Regions from separate parts of the Homo sapiens genome. Here regions 2, 3 and 4 are each linked to region 1. The links are contacts of gene promoters, found by promoter capture Hi-C in blood cells and fetal thymus (Javierre and others, 2016). All regions are on one chromosome and are shown on one strand. The core of a region is centred on a gene start or on the middle of the fragment in contact, and the rest is flanking DNA. Distances in the headings are between cores, read along the strand shown.

Region 1 (3,373 bases), core at 579-3,078:
TTGAAAAGTAAAGGGAGAAAAGTCCTTTAAATTCCGGGACTGAACAGCTTGGGCTTAAATTTTTCTTCCTTTACATCTGCTAGAACCAAATTTTCATAGTGTCCTCCTAGCAATTAAAAAAGACTCCTAAGTACGTTTGGACGTAAGAGTGCTTAATGCAGTTTTTCAACTTTCCTTATCCGCCAGGTTTAACGTACAGATATCATACCAAATGAAAACCAGTTTTGCACAAGAGTATATAAGCTGATTAGGTTGCTGCTTAACTAGAAACCAGAGCTGTCTGTGTCAAAGACAGTCAGTCAAGCTTCAGGTCCCACTACTGCTATCACTAAAGTCTATGCCAAAAGGCAAAGAACACCTAACTAAAGGTTCTGTTTTTTCCAGCAAACTTCATCCCCCTCCTTCTCTACCCAAAACTGATCTTCAGATAAGGGTTAGATTCAGTATTTTGAGGAAACTCTAAACACCTTGATCCAATCCCCCTCCAAATTGTTTCTCCTTCAAAATTACCTCCAATTTCACATATTCTGCTGACTTCTCAATTTACTTCTATTTTAAAGATATCCAAATACAAACGACAATTATATACAAGATTTATCTATGAATAAAGAGTTGGTTAGGAATTTTGGCAGTCTTGGCAACTATTCTTAAAAGTTAAAAAAATAAAAAAATTAAAAAAGGAAAGGCTAAAAGTAAATGCAATGGACCAGCAGGTTACGGATCCGAACGAATGTAGGCCAACCTAGGGCCCTCTTTCCCCAGCTTCACAAGATAGGGCAGTTGGTTAAAAAAACAAAAACAAAACCGAGAAGCAACCCCAACAGGTAAGTCATTACAAAAGCGCCCCGTAAGCGCCCTGACTGGAGGACAGCTTTGGGTCCCACGTAACGCAGCCGCAAGTGTGGGAAGCCGGCGGCGGGGCGCGGTGGGCACCCAACGGCGGCGACCAGCGGGGTTGACCCCACACCCGGGGCCCGGCCGAGCCGGGCGCTGAGAGGCGCTGGCCCCCGCGCTGTGGTTCCCCAGCACCAAACCCCGCTAAGTTAACTACCTGTGTCTACGAGGAAGGGAAGTTCTGGAGAAGCAGCAGCAAGCCTTCGTGCCCGAGAGGAGGCCGCCGGGCCAGGCAGGGCGCCGGCTCTCCCGGGAGCTGCGCCCGGAACTCGAAGGCCTGGCAGCGAACCCTTCTCAAGGGCAAAAGGAGCCGGCCTGAGGCTCTGGCGCGGGCAACCGGGCCCCGCCGCCGGCAGGGCCCCGGGAGGGGAACAAAGGGGCCAGCGGGGAAGTCGGCAGCAGCCTGGCCGACCTCACTCGGCGCCGGGGTCTCGCTTTCCGCCACTCGCCGGGCGTCCGGGATCCGCGCCCCCACGCAGGGCCCTTCCGACGGTCCGAGGCGCTCCCGCCTCCCCTTCCCGCAGGCTCTTACTCGGGCTTGTCGTTCCAAACCGCTCCGATCCAGCTCCCAACAGGCCGCCGGCAGAGCCAGGCCCGGCCGCGGCCCTAGAGTTCCCAAGAAGCCGCAGGCCGCGCAGGTCGAACCGGGCAGGCGGCACAGGAAAAGCCGCGCCTCGTCCCTCCCCTTCCTCCGCGAGGACCTGGTGACAGGGAAGCGAGAGGTTCTCGCGTGCGGCAGCAGCCAGCGGACGTCCAGTCCCCAGCACGCGGCTCCTCAGGCCCTGCAACTCAGAGGCCCGCGCGGTGCTGCGGGCGACGGCGGCGGCGGCGCGGCGGGGAGGCCCAGTCCATCGCGAACCGGGAGGGGGAGGGGAGGAGGGTCGAGGGAGAGCCAGGCGGGGAAGCTGCCGAGGGCAGCCGAGCCCGGCGGAGGCGGAGCAAATCCACTCCCCCGGCGGCGACCCCGCCGGCGGCCACCTGGGGCGCTGCGGGACGGCCGACCGCCGCGCAGGGGCGCCAAACCGGGTACGCCGCGTCGCCGTCCCTGCCCCGGAGCTCTCGCCCCCGCCGCCTCGGGCTGTGTCGTACGTTTCTGCCGCGGCTTTTCTATGGTGCGCCCTGGCCCCCTTTTCGCTTCCCTGTCAGTCCGAGCGCGCTCATGCACGCACGTCCAGCTTGCTTGGCGCCGTGGCTAACACTTTGCGCGCTCCTGCGGAGGGCGTCGCACGGCACAGCACAGCAAAGCTGCGGCCCAACCTGTCCCCGCTGAGCCTTCCGCCCAGGCCACCCGCACTCAGCCACGATCTTCCCTCCTCGCGCACGGAAGTGCGTCGCGTAAGGAAGGCGTCTCCCCCCGCTCCTGGGAGGCCGACCGCCTGGCGGTTCACCCCAAAGAAAACCCTTCAGAGCAACCCTGGGAAAGAGGTGCTGCCGACGATTATCAACGTTGTACAGATGAGACACTGAGGCTCCAGGAAAGCGCAAATGCAGGCCCAGCGCCGTGCCCGGTCGGCAGCAGCACTGAGAGTGCACTTTTGACTACGTTTCTTGTGGCTTGTGGTCACAAGTATGTCTGTGGTTATTCTTTTCAAACTTTATTTCACACGCATTCAGAATAAAGGATGCATGCTTATAGGACGTAGTTGGAGCCCGGAGACGTCCTACTGTACTCTCACTTTCAGCTTTTAAACAAAAAGAAAAATTAATACGACATGATAGTGTTTGAGACATGGTCCCTCAGGCAACCAGAGGAGCTGCTAGGTATGAGTAAAGAACAGAATTTGGGTCCGCTGCGTTTCCTGTAATCCCAGCACTTTATGATTTTACTCTCTTGAGGCCCGGAGTTCGAGACCAGCCTGAGCAACATAGACCTGGTCTCTGCAAAAAAATTAAAATTTAAAAAATAATTACCCAGATGCGGTGACGCACACCTATGGTCCCAGCTACTGGAGCGGTTGAGATGGGATGATCCCTCGAGCCCAAGAAATTGAGGCTGCAGTGAGCTTTGATAATGCCACCTCACTCCAGCCTGGGCGACTAAGCAAATTTGTCATTTCCAAAATACTGGTTCTTTTTTTTCTTTCTTTTTTACTACTTCTTTAGAAAAAGAACCAGTATTTTGGAAATGACAAATTTGTACTTCAGATAGCTATCCGCGCATGTCCCGTTGTCGCAGGTAATGGTCCGTTTAGGTATCCTGTTAACGAAACAAGAGGAAAAAGAGGATTCAACTATTTTGTCCCAAGTACAACACATGAGGATAATTATTTAGATGTCATGAGTGTGAATTGGAGCTGCCAGGAAACTTCAAGAAGGAAGTGGCATTCCCTCTGGACCTTGAAGAATGGGTACAATGTAGACACTGAAAGGAAAGGGAAGAACATAAAGCCTGATATGTTCCTAGACATAGGAAAGGTCACCTGTGCCCCCAGCAAAGAACCAACAGTAAGCAACAGAGAGAGAAATTTGGAGCTAAAGT
Region 2 (3,475 bases), core at 515-3,014, 1.0 Mb after region 1:
CCGCCTCCCAGGTTCATGCCATTCTCCTGCCTCAGCCTCCCGAGTAGCTGGGACTAAAGGCGCCCACCACCACACCTGGCTAATTTTTTTGTATTTTTAGTAGAGACAGGGTTTCACCGTGTTAGCCAGGATGGTATTGATCTCCTGACCTCATGATCCGCCTGCCTCGGCCTCCCAAAGTGCTGGGATTACAGGCATGAGTCACCACGCCTGGCCTGTAATTAACTTTTTAATCTTAGCCACTTCTACTCTAGCTAGGTTTAACCTGAATCATTCTAGAACAGTGGGTCTGAGTGACACACACCCCTGGACTCCTATTATGAGCCTCCACTCACTTCTTCCCCTGGTGGCTGTTCAGGCCCTCCTACATGATCGCCTCTATGGGCCAGCCTCACTGCTTCTAGGAATGGCTCTGTATATTCCTGGGTTGTAAAGGTGGGTAGGAGTTAATTTCTCATGCTAGGACCCAAGGTGCATAAAGCCTTTACATTTCACATCTCTTTATTGACGCTGTGATTTCACTCCCCCCATCAACTCTGTTCATTCACACAGCTCATGAAGGTTTTTGTTTACCAAGAAGTCTAAGTTTCAATCTACCAAAAAAACTGAGGCTGCCCCTGTTGTCATATTTGATAGTGTTAATTGCAAGTAAAACACTTATTAATCAAATCTTCCTGTCCAATTATTTTTACAGAGTGAAAAAAATTTCTTTTTAATTAATTGTGTGTTTTGGGTGTCATGGAACGATATTTTGGTCTGATGGTCAGAATTCAAACCCCAGTCCCAGCCCTTGAACAACCCACATTCTCTTATGAAATGGGGATAATAACTACCCTGCTTGCCTTTTAGGGTTGACAGAAAGATCTGTGAGAAACGCTTGTGCCTTTACATTGCAAAGCATAGCAGGTGTGTAAATTGCTGTTGTTGCGGTGAGAAACTTTTCAGTTTTAAGGTTTGCGGTGATTGGAATTTTTTAAATTTATTTTTTATTTTAGTTTTTTTTTTTTTTTTTGAGATGGAGTCTCGCTCTGTCTCCAGGTTGGAGTGCAGTGGCACGATCTTGGCTCACTGCAACCTCCGCCTATTGGGTTCAAGCAATTCTCCTGCCTCACCCTTCCGAGTAGCTGGGACTACAGGCACATGCCACCACACCCAGCTAATTTTTGTATTTTTAGTAGAGATGGGGTTTTACCATGTTGGCCAGGATGGTCTCATCTCTTGACCTTGTGATCTGCCCACCTCGGCCTCCCAAAGTGCTGGGATGACAGGTGTGAGCCACCATGCCCGGCCGGATTTTTATAATTCATTAATTCAAAAACATTTGGGCATTTGCATCAGAGACCTTCACTACATCCTGAAGAGCACTTGCCTACAATTCTTAAGCTGAGGAATACAACCCAGTAGTCAGCTGTTATCTTGGAAATTATGACCAGTTAAAAACAACAACATTGGAAAGGAAACGGTGTAACTTTAAGGGAAAGCAAACTTAGGGCCAGTCACCTTCCCTGCCACCCAAAGCTTAGAATATTAGGTATTATCTGTTTAACATGTTTCTTAATTTTTTTAACACAAACGTTTTGTACATTTGGGTCCTGTTTATTAAATACATGATGAAAATGAGAGAGGTAAGATCTGCTGTCTCTTTGAGGAAATTAAGACTTAAATGTTTTACTACTTGTACCTACTATTAGCCAATTGATCTTTGTTATTGCCTAGAGTGAGTATCAGCAGGCTCAAACTGTATTCTTAGTCAGCTGTTAAGGTTCCAGTATAATCACCTAGTACTTCAGAATGGGGGGGGTGGGGCAAAACCCAACATTCAACTATCCAATGATGCTTCCACTAGAAACGTCCTCATTCTTGTGATGTATAATCCTGGTTCATGCTAAGTTTATAAACTTCTTGTTTTCTGTATCCCTCACTGGCTGCTCTATCCATAACCCATAACCCATAACCACTGAGACCCCCAGCCTTAGTGCTTGGATCCTGCTTCCACTTCAATAACCTTGGGTAAGCTTAGCCACTTGGGATTTGGTATACAGAGTGTGCATATGTGCATCTCTGGTTCAATAGGGGATACAGGCCAGTGTGCTCAGTATGTCCCTTCTGTGAACTCATATGATCCAGATTCCTGGGTCCCAGCACTGGGAACTGTGATTTAGTAGGTCTGGAGAGGAGCCCTGGAATCTGTATTTGAACAGGCACCCAGGGGATTCTGATGCAGGGCTCTGTGGGCTAGCTACCCTTTGTAAATCACTGTGTTCTCCAATTGTTGGCCTGGTTTTTAATCTTTCCTTTTTTTTTTTTTTTTTTTTTAATCTTACATTCCAGGAGCCTAAAACTAACTAACCTTCCACAAGTCAATACAGGTTTCTTTTCCCTGTCACCTTGCCTGGACCAAAGTTTTGAAAATGTAGTCATCTTCTTCCTCCTCTATTCTGCCTTCCTCCTTTCTTCTTGGGCCTCCTCCTCCTCTCTCATGGAGTTATTCACAAAGTCCAGTTGATTCCTCCTCTCCAGGCTTCATTCACATTACATCTCATTCTCTTGGAGCTCTAAGCCCCCACCCACACTGCCTCATACCTGAACTATCCAAAAGTCTTCTAGCTTTAAGGCTGGGCGTGGTGGCTCATGCCTGTGGATTCTAGCACTTTGGGAGGCCAAGGTGGGCAGATTGCTTGAGCTCAGGAGTTGGAGACCAGCCTGGGCAACATGGTGAAATCCCATCTTTACTAAAATACAAAAAATTAGCCAGGCCTGATGACGCACACCTGTATAATCCCACCTACTCAGGAGGCTGAGGCATAAGAATTGCTTGAACCCGGGAGGTGGGGGTTGCAGTGAATTGAGAATGTGCCACTGCACTCCAGCCTGGGTGACAGAGTGAGACTGTGTCTCAAAAAAAAAAAAAAAGAACCACCACCCAAAACAGAAGTCTTCTAGCTTCTCTCCTCTTCCTGTAATCCCTTTTGTGCATAATTGTCTGCCATTTGTACAAACACCATTTTCACCATGTCACTCATCTCTTTAAGAAACAGTAGTGATTCTCTGCCTTCCACATTAGAATTTTCTTTTCTATCAACTGCACTCCTCATTACTCCAAAATATTGCCTACAGTCCATTATTTACACACAATTTCTTTACTCTTGCCTTTGATGATATATTCTCAAAATATATTCATTAGAAATTTCAATGGTCACAGAACTTACTTTGGTAAAGGAGATTTTGCTACATTGACTACATTATTATAAATCCCTTCCCATAAGCAATGGCTAGAGTTGCTTATGGGAAGGGAAATCAAATGGACTGATGCTGATTAGAGGAGGAACTTCCATTCTTCTATTTTGTCACAGAGTTAAACTGCCCTTTGATGGTTTCCTTAGACTAAATTAGATTTATTTTGCTCAATGAACTTTGACCTTGAGCTTTTTTTATTTTTTTTTTATTTTATTATTTTTTTTTTTTTTTGATACCG
Region 3 (3,177 bases), core at 313-2,812, 1.3 Mb after region 1:
GCAAATCAGGATTTTTGTTTTTGTTATGTTTTATTGTCCTCCCTCCTCCCATCTTTGTCCCTCCATTCTTTCTCCCAGGTACTCCATATCCTTATGTTGTTTTCGTCTCATCAAAGCCCTGACAGAAACACAACCACTTCCAAAGACTTGCCATTCCTCAAATGTCCTGCGTTCTAATTGGACTTGCCCCCCTTTGCTCTAACAATCTTATTCCACCTTCATCAAAATTATTATTTCTAGGATACTGATTTTAGAGCATCTGTTTTAAGTGATTATTAATAATATATGAATAATAGGTAGGTTTAGTCCAAATTAATCTCTGCCTAGTGGAATGTGTGAAAAACTGTCCTAAACTCTACAGTAATGAATGCTATTGGAAGAGGTATTAACTAGGCATTCCACTAGAAAATTTGCTGATCCCTCGTCTGTTTTGTCATACCTCCCTGACTCATGGGGTGTACTGTGAGAACTGTTGCAACTCTGGGGAAGTGTTTTCCTGTCCTGCCACTAGACTTTGTGCCAGGAAATAATTTCTAGGCATTGCCTGGTAAAGTTCATCAACTTGCTTTGAAGAAGTCCTGTGAAAGCAATAGAGGGTTTTGTGTTGCTTTTCAACAGTCTCCAACGGAGGAGATTTTCACAACCTCCTTGGTATGCCAGTGTATAACAAACTATGATCACTAGCATTCCCCCAAGTAATTTAAGAAGAATTAAAAACAAGATAGGCACACAAAAGTTTATACATTTAAAAAAAGTTAGATTATTTGACATATTAAACTACCAGTAGATTCCTAGCGTTTCTTGGTAGTAGAAAACTTTTGAAAACATGTCCAATAATCTGTATAATAAAGTCAAGACAGTTTTGATCTTGATCTGTAAGAAAGTGTAATAATAACTAAATCATTATTTGAATGCTGACAAGAAAAGTACTTGCTGTACATTTACTGTTTACTTGTATTGTAGCACCACCTACTGTTGATAAAGAAACAAGCTTTTATAGCTTTCCCATTTTTCTTTGCCTCGCTAGTTAAAAGAATGTCTTTTTTTTTTTGAGATCTGATATTTTTAATGTCACAAATTTTTTTTTTTTATTATTATACTTGTCTTGGCTCGTCAGCCAGACATGCTGCTCGGAGATGTTTCTAAAGTTATGATACAGAGATTGCATTATGTCTGTTTCCAAAATGAAAGATTATGCCTTCAGTTACCTAAAGATCAGAACTGATGCTTGACATGCATATATGACATATTTTATCGCTTTTCAAATCAGATGTTTATCTTTTTATTTTCTAATAAAATAGGCTGTAGATGTTGGGAAATTACTGATTTGCTTTAAGTTCAGTTGCTCTTCCAATGAACAAATATTAAGTGGTAAAACATCAAGTCTTCTGAATATAATTACTAATATAAAATGATGTCATATTAGATCCAGGGTTAGCACTTACATACCATCACTCCCTTTCCTCCACCCTCAACAGAATCTTCATCACTAAAAAACCCACAAAACATCAACTAGGCTATTTGATATTTAGAGCTTTACTACTCAAAGTGTGGTCTGTGGACTGGACGCTTGGGCCACACCTGGGAACTGTTAGAAATGCAGGATTCTTGTCTCCCTGCATTTTAACAAGATCCCCAGGTGATTCAGATGCACATTAAGATTTGAGAAGCAATGTTTCAGGCATTTCTTGTATCCCACCCTACCCATCCCTGCCAGAAGACTGAACAGCAGTCAAACCAAGAGTAAGGTCTTTCATTACAAGTTTGAATTTACAGTATCTTATTCTCATAAAAAGTTAGATGATATTCTCTGACTCATGGCTTATTGAATGTAAATTGTATCACTGCTGTCGTTAGGGCTCACATCAGCAACTGAACAAAGAAGGCACAGTCCTTTCCCACTGGATCTGTCAGCTTCATCTCTGGGGAAAGTAATCAGGGAGCCATTTAAAGCAGCTGAGAGGAAAACTGCCAGCTCTGAAATTTTAGGGCATGCAAATGCCAACAAAATATTTAAGTTCGGTATGATAGAATCGTAGTTTGAACAGACAATAGAGGTAGGCTTAAATAATTCCTGACAATTGAAGTAGAAAGCAATACTTAGAGCTAGAATTATGAATAAATTGGAAAATTTAAAGCTTGATTTTTCTTAAGTCTAAATTTTCTTTTACCCATCTCTTTCTTCTATTTAAAAATCTAGTTAGTTTACTACAAGAGCAGTAACAGCCATTTGATTTTTGGTTAATGTTGAATTAGTTCATAAGTTTAACAAATGAATGTCATTCACAAATTTAGTTAATTTTCCTAAGACCTTTAATCCATCTAATAATCTCAAATACTTTAGATACATGAGGATAGACTTAGAAACCTAACTAGGCCAAATCTTTCAGTGAACTTAGGCCAGTTTTGAAAATGTAATAAACCAAATTTATAACTATGATAAACTAGGTTCTTTCATATTACAAAATTAATCAAATTCTTACCTTTATTAAAATCATGGCCGATATCCATTCAACATTTCAAATTAAAACTTCAAGGCAGTTTTGTATTTTGGATTCTTTAAAAACGTTTCAATAATTTTAAATAATAAACACCAAGATTGTCTCCATAATCATAAAATGTACTGCCAAAGTTAGCACTAAGTACCATGGGTTAGGCTTATGTCATTATCTCTGTATTTCTACATTTTCCTAGTGTTTCATAGTCACACAGCTAAAGATAGTAGAAGTCATCTGATCCATGACCAGTTCTGTAATGCGTTTATGGACGGTGGTAGTAATAAGAAATTGTGGACCAAAAGCAAGATCATAGTGCTACTTCCTAAACTGTGAATTAGCAGGCTGAACCTTTTAATAGTTTAAGTCTTTCTTGTCAGTGGGGGAATCCAAGTCCATGGCGAGAGCTGAGACTTAGTTTCATAGGCCATTGTCTTTTCTCCTAAGTGTATTATACATTTACTCAATTTTCATTGTAAACCCTTTCAACATTCTCTCACCCAATTTGGGTAGGTGGAATCCTGTACCCCCCACCAGGGCTATAGCTAATATCTTCATTGCACAGTTATTGTTCATTGAGACATGTACCTCCATCCATGGTATAAACTGTTTTTATTATCTGTCTCACCTCCATTTTAACAGTAATTCTGTTGACATTGCTTCTAGACTGGAGTTTGGCTAA
Region 4 (3,321 bases), core at 615-3,114, 1.3 Mb after region 1:
TAGAACTTGTTAAATATGTACATATGTACCTGATTAAAAAAACTAAAGCTTTGCAGTAAGAATTTGTATTTGTATGTACCAAAACAATATATCTATATTTAGCTCTTATCTATAAAAATCTAATTGTAATTGATATGTCTAAGAAACACCCAAAACTCAGATTTTGATTCTTTTTTCCAGGATCTTTGTACTTTATCCAGTTAGACTAGGTCTTTACTTTCAAGAAAAGAGAGACGAGAAGAGGGAAGGAAAACTCACTTAACATGTTTCATCAGCATGATCCATGAAGTTATCAGCAGGAAATATAAACAGATTATTTTAAGCAATGATCTTGCTAACAAAATACTTGAATGTGCTTTGTAGAGAAGTAGTTACCCACACATAACCCATGACCTGTTCATTTGGCAGATTGCCATGAAGTATTTACTTGATAAGATTATTTATTGACATCTAGCTTAAAATGAATATTGCATTATGTCTGAATGTGATTCTTATTACAAGGACAGAGGGATAATACAATAGTGAACCAATGATCACTTCCTATACTTCTGTCACTCTGTGACGCTGAGCATACTTCCCCAGAGTCCCTGGTTGGAAGGAGGGCACACTTACTATATGGGATGCATAGGTGCCAATGGTTGAAGTTGTGTTCATGCAGCATATCTACCCAGAATTGGTATGGTGTTGCCAGTGTAGGTGCTAATACTACTTAGAATGGTGAAGATTTGAGTACAGAAGCTTCCCTGAGAAGTTCTGTACTTTAGTCTTAATTACCATATATGGGGAAAAGTCTGTATCAAAAGGGCTGTGTATTCTTGACTGATCTTTGTGTCTCCCAACCTTTTCTCTTTTTCTTTGCTAGTTATGCCAGATGTTTCTAGTGTCTACAGGTATGATGGTCATAGTCACCACCATATCATAAGATACCTTCCCCCATTCCCTTTATCCTGACTTGGTATAAACAAGTTCCTTTTTCCTTTACCTTAACTGGGGCAGGTATGTATACAGGGAACCTTCAAATGGACTCTTAAAGAACAAAGGTCAAGCCCTGAAGTTTCCCATTGCAAGTGCATTCTAGCCTGTGGCACACCAAAGTATTTGGAAAGCTCTGCTCTATCAGTTATTCAAGGACTGAGGTTCCTTCCCTCCTAAGCAACCCTGTCCAATAAAAATACAGTAGAAGCCACAAATGAATCATACTTGCGATTTTTAAATTTTCTAAATCAAGAAAGTAAAAACACAATAAATTTTAATATCTCTTATTTAACCCAATTTGTCCAAAATATTGTTTTAACATGTAATTAATATAAAATTATTAATAAACAATTTCAAATTCTTTTTTGCACACAAAGTTTTTGAAATCCAGTGTGTATCTTATACTTAGAATACATCTCAATTTGGACTAGCAAAAACATTTCAAGTGCTACCACATTGGACAGTACAGATCTAGAGGTTCATTTTTCTAGGACCTCAGAATCCTCGATCTTCAGAATCCAGTCAGCAGACAAGGAAAAGAGAGTACATAAAATATCTCAAAGGAAGTTTTAAGGATTCAACCTGGCACCAAAGTATATCACTTCTACCCACGTTCCATTGGCCAGTATTTAGTCCATATGACCTGATCTAACTAACTGCCCAGGGCACCTGGAAAATGTCATTTAGCTGTGTGCCCAGGAGGAAAAAAAAATAGGTTTGGCGAGTACAGAGTAGAGTCTTTACCACAGCATAAGGTATTATTATTACCATATTTTACAGATCAGGAAATTGATGCCCAGGCAGATTAACTGACACTCTTGTTAATGAGAAAATGTAAGTAGATGCGAGGTCTTCACTCTCTGGAGTGATATTTCTTCCATCAGACTGCCCTTCTTTCTTTCCTTTATTTGTCCTTCAACCTCCCCTTTAACTCTGTGCATGTAGATGCAGCTCTTGCAGTAAACCTATGTCTTCAATATTTTATCACATTGGCTCTCCTAGGCTGTACTCTGACTTAATGACAGTATCCTATTACTTCTGTTTTAGAAAATGATAAGCGCCCAGTATAATGAAGCAAATATGCCTTATTACTGGATCGTTTAACTAATAGTACTATTTTCAGCATTGCATTATCATTTTGAGTGGGCCTTTTCCTTCCTCATACTGAAGCTCCTCATTCAAAGCAAAAGATTGTTAAGGTCCTCATCAAGCCATTTCAATCAATGTATAAATTGTATTTTATGTTATAATGAACAGTCTGTTCAATTGAAGTTTTTAGCTTTTTAAAAGTGCTTAGAAGAATAGTAACAGAAGTGCTCTTAATGGTGAAATTATTGAACTGAAGTGCTTGGATAAGCTGTTTTATTTCTTAAATGAAAGGAGATATTTTAGATGGAGAAATGAGATAAATATTCCTCAAAGGAGACTGGTGGTAAAGAGTGACTGCTCTCCATGGATTACTGATTATAACACAAGTGTCCATCAAGAGCAGCTTTTATTGAAGACAGTTTAATTGGACCACTGCCCTTTAGCTTTAAATTACCCACGGCAAACTGGTTTAGAGTTTTTGTTGCTGTCTGTCTTATATTTGTGAATATGAAATACATTTACAGAGCCAAAAATTTAAAAATATGAAAAGATATACAGTGAAAACGCCACCTTTTATACTCCAATGCAGAGAGCTGGCCTTTCTAACAGTTTCTCCCTTTTGTAACCCAACTTTGTAGGTACTCATTCTTCTCTTCTTGCATATTCTTCTAGAATTTGTATATGCATTTATAAGCAAATGTGAATATATATTCTTAGTTTTCCTCCTGTTTTATCCTATACATACTGTTCTGCACCTTGCTTTTTAAACTTTATACACCATGAAGATCTTTCTGCGTCAGAATATAAAGTCTTCTTATTATCCTCATTCTTATAGTTGTGTAGTGCTCTACTGAATAAATGTACCATACTGATGAACATTTAGTCTGTTTCCAATCTTTGGATATTACAAACTGTATTGCAATAAATAAGCTTGAACATAAGTCATTTCACAAAAAATGTAAACATATTGCATACATAAATTCTCAGAAGTAGAATTGCTAGTCAATATATATAGTATATGCATTTGGAATTTAATAGAAATGGCCAAACTGCTTTCCACAGTGGTTGCACTAATTTACCGTCCAACCAGGAATACTTAATAGTGCCTATTTCATGTGCCTTTCCCCATAGATTGTGTTATGAAATTTTTTTTTGCTCTGTGTCTGAAAATGATATTTTAGTGTAGCTTAAAATTATATTTCTTTTACTGTGAGAAAAGTGAGCATCTTTTCATATGTTTAACGATCATTTGTGTTA

The links. Contacts are between HindIII fragments. The CHiCAGO score rates a contact against its expected background, and 5 or more counts as called.
Region 2: a contact is called between a fragment that was not itself captured here and the fragment with the promoter of HECTD1 in region 1, in 1 of 17 cell types (fetal thymus). The highest score is 6.6, in fetal thymus.
Region 3: a contact is called between a fragment that was not itself captured here and the fragment with the promoter of HECTD1 in region 1, in 1 of 17 cell types (M0 macrophages). The highest score is 6.0, in M0 macrophages.
Region 4: a contact is called between a fragment that was not itself captured here and the fragment with the promoter of HECTD1 in region 1, in 1 of 17 cell types (M0 macrophages). The highest score is 7.2, in M0 macrophages.

The regions. Positions count from the first base shown.
Region 1 is chr14:31,205,965-31,209,337 of GRCh38, forward strand. It overlaps HECTD1 (HECT domain E3 ubiquitin protein ligase 1), which reads right to left and starts at 1,829. Exons shown (of 43, transcript NM_015382.4): 1 at 1,052-1,829. RefSeq lists enhancers at 721-1,234, 1,747-2,258, 2,236-2,405, 2,259-2,770 and silencers at 876-1,085, 1,206-1,415, 1,716-2,055. The HindIII fragment of the contact is 4,913 bases long and covers 303-3,373 here.
Region 2 is chr14:32,210,882-32,214,356 of GRCh38, forward strand. No RefSeq gene overlaps it. Among named protein-coding and RNA genes, the nearest start is that of RNU6-8, 9.4 kb to the left of the region's middle. The HindIII fragment of the contact is 497 bases long and covers 1,517-2,013 here.
Region 3 is chr14:32,468,636-32,471,812 of GRCh38, forward strand. All of the region lies in intron 2 of AKAP6 (A-kinase anchoring protein 6), which reads left to right. Among named protein-coding and RNA genes, the nearest start is that of AKAP6, 140 kb to the left of the region's middle. The HindIII fragment of the contact is 1,147 bases long and covers 990-2,136 here.
Region 4 is chr14:32,499,903-32,503,223 of GRCh38, forward strand. All of the region lies in intron 2 of AKAP6 (A-kinase anchoring protein 6), which reads left to right. Among named protein-coding and RNA genes, the nearest start is that of AKAP6, 170 kb to the left of the region's middle. The HindIII fragment of the contact is 2,256 bases long and covers 737-2,992 here.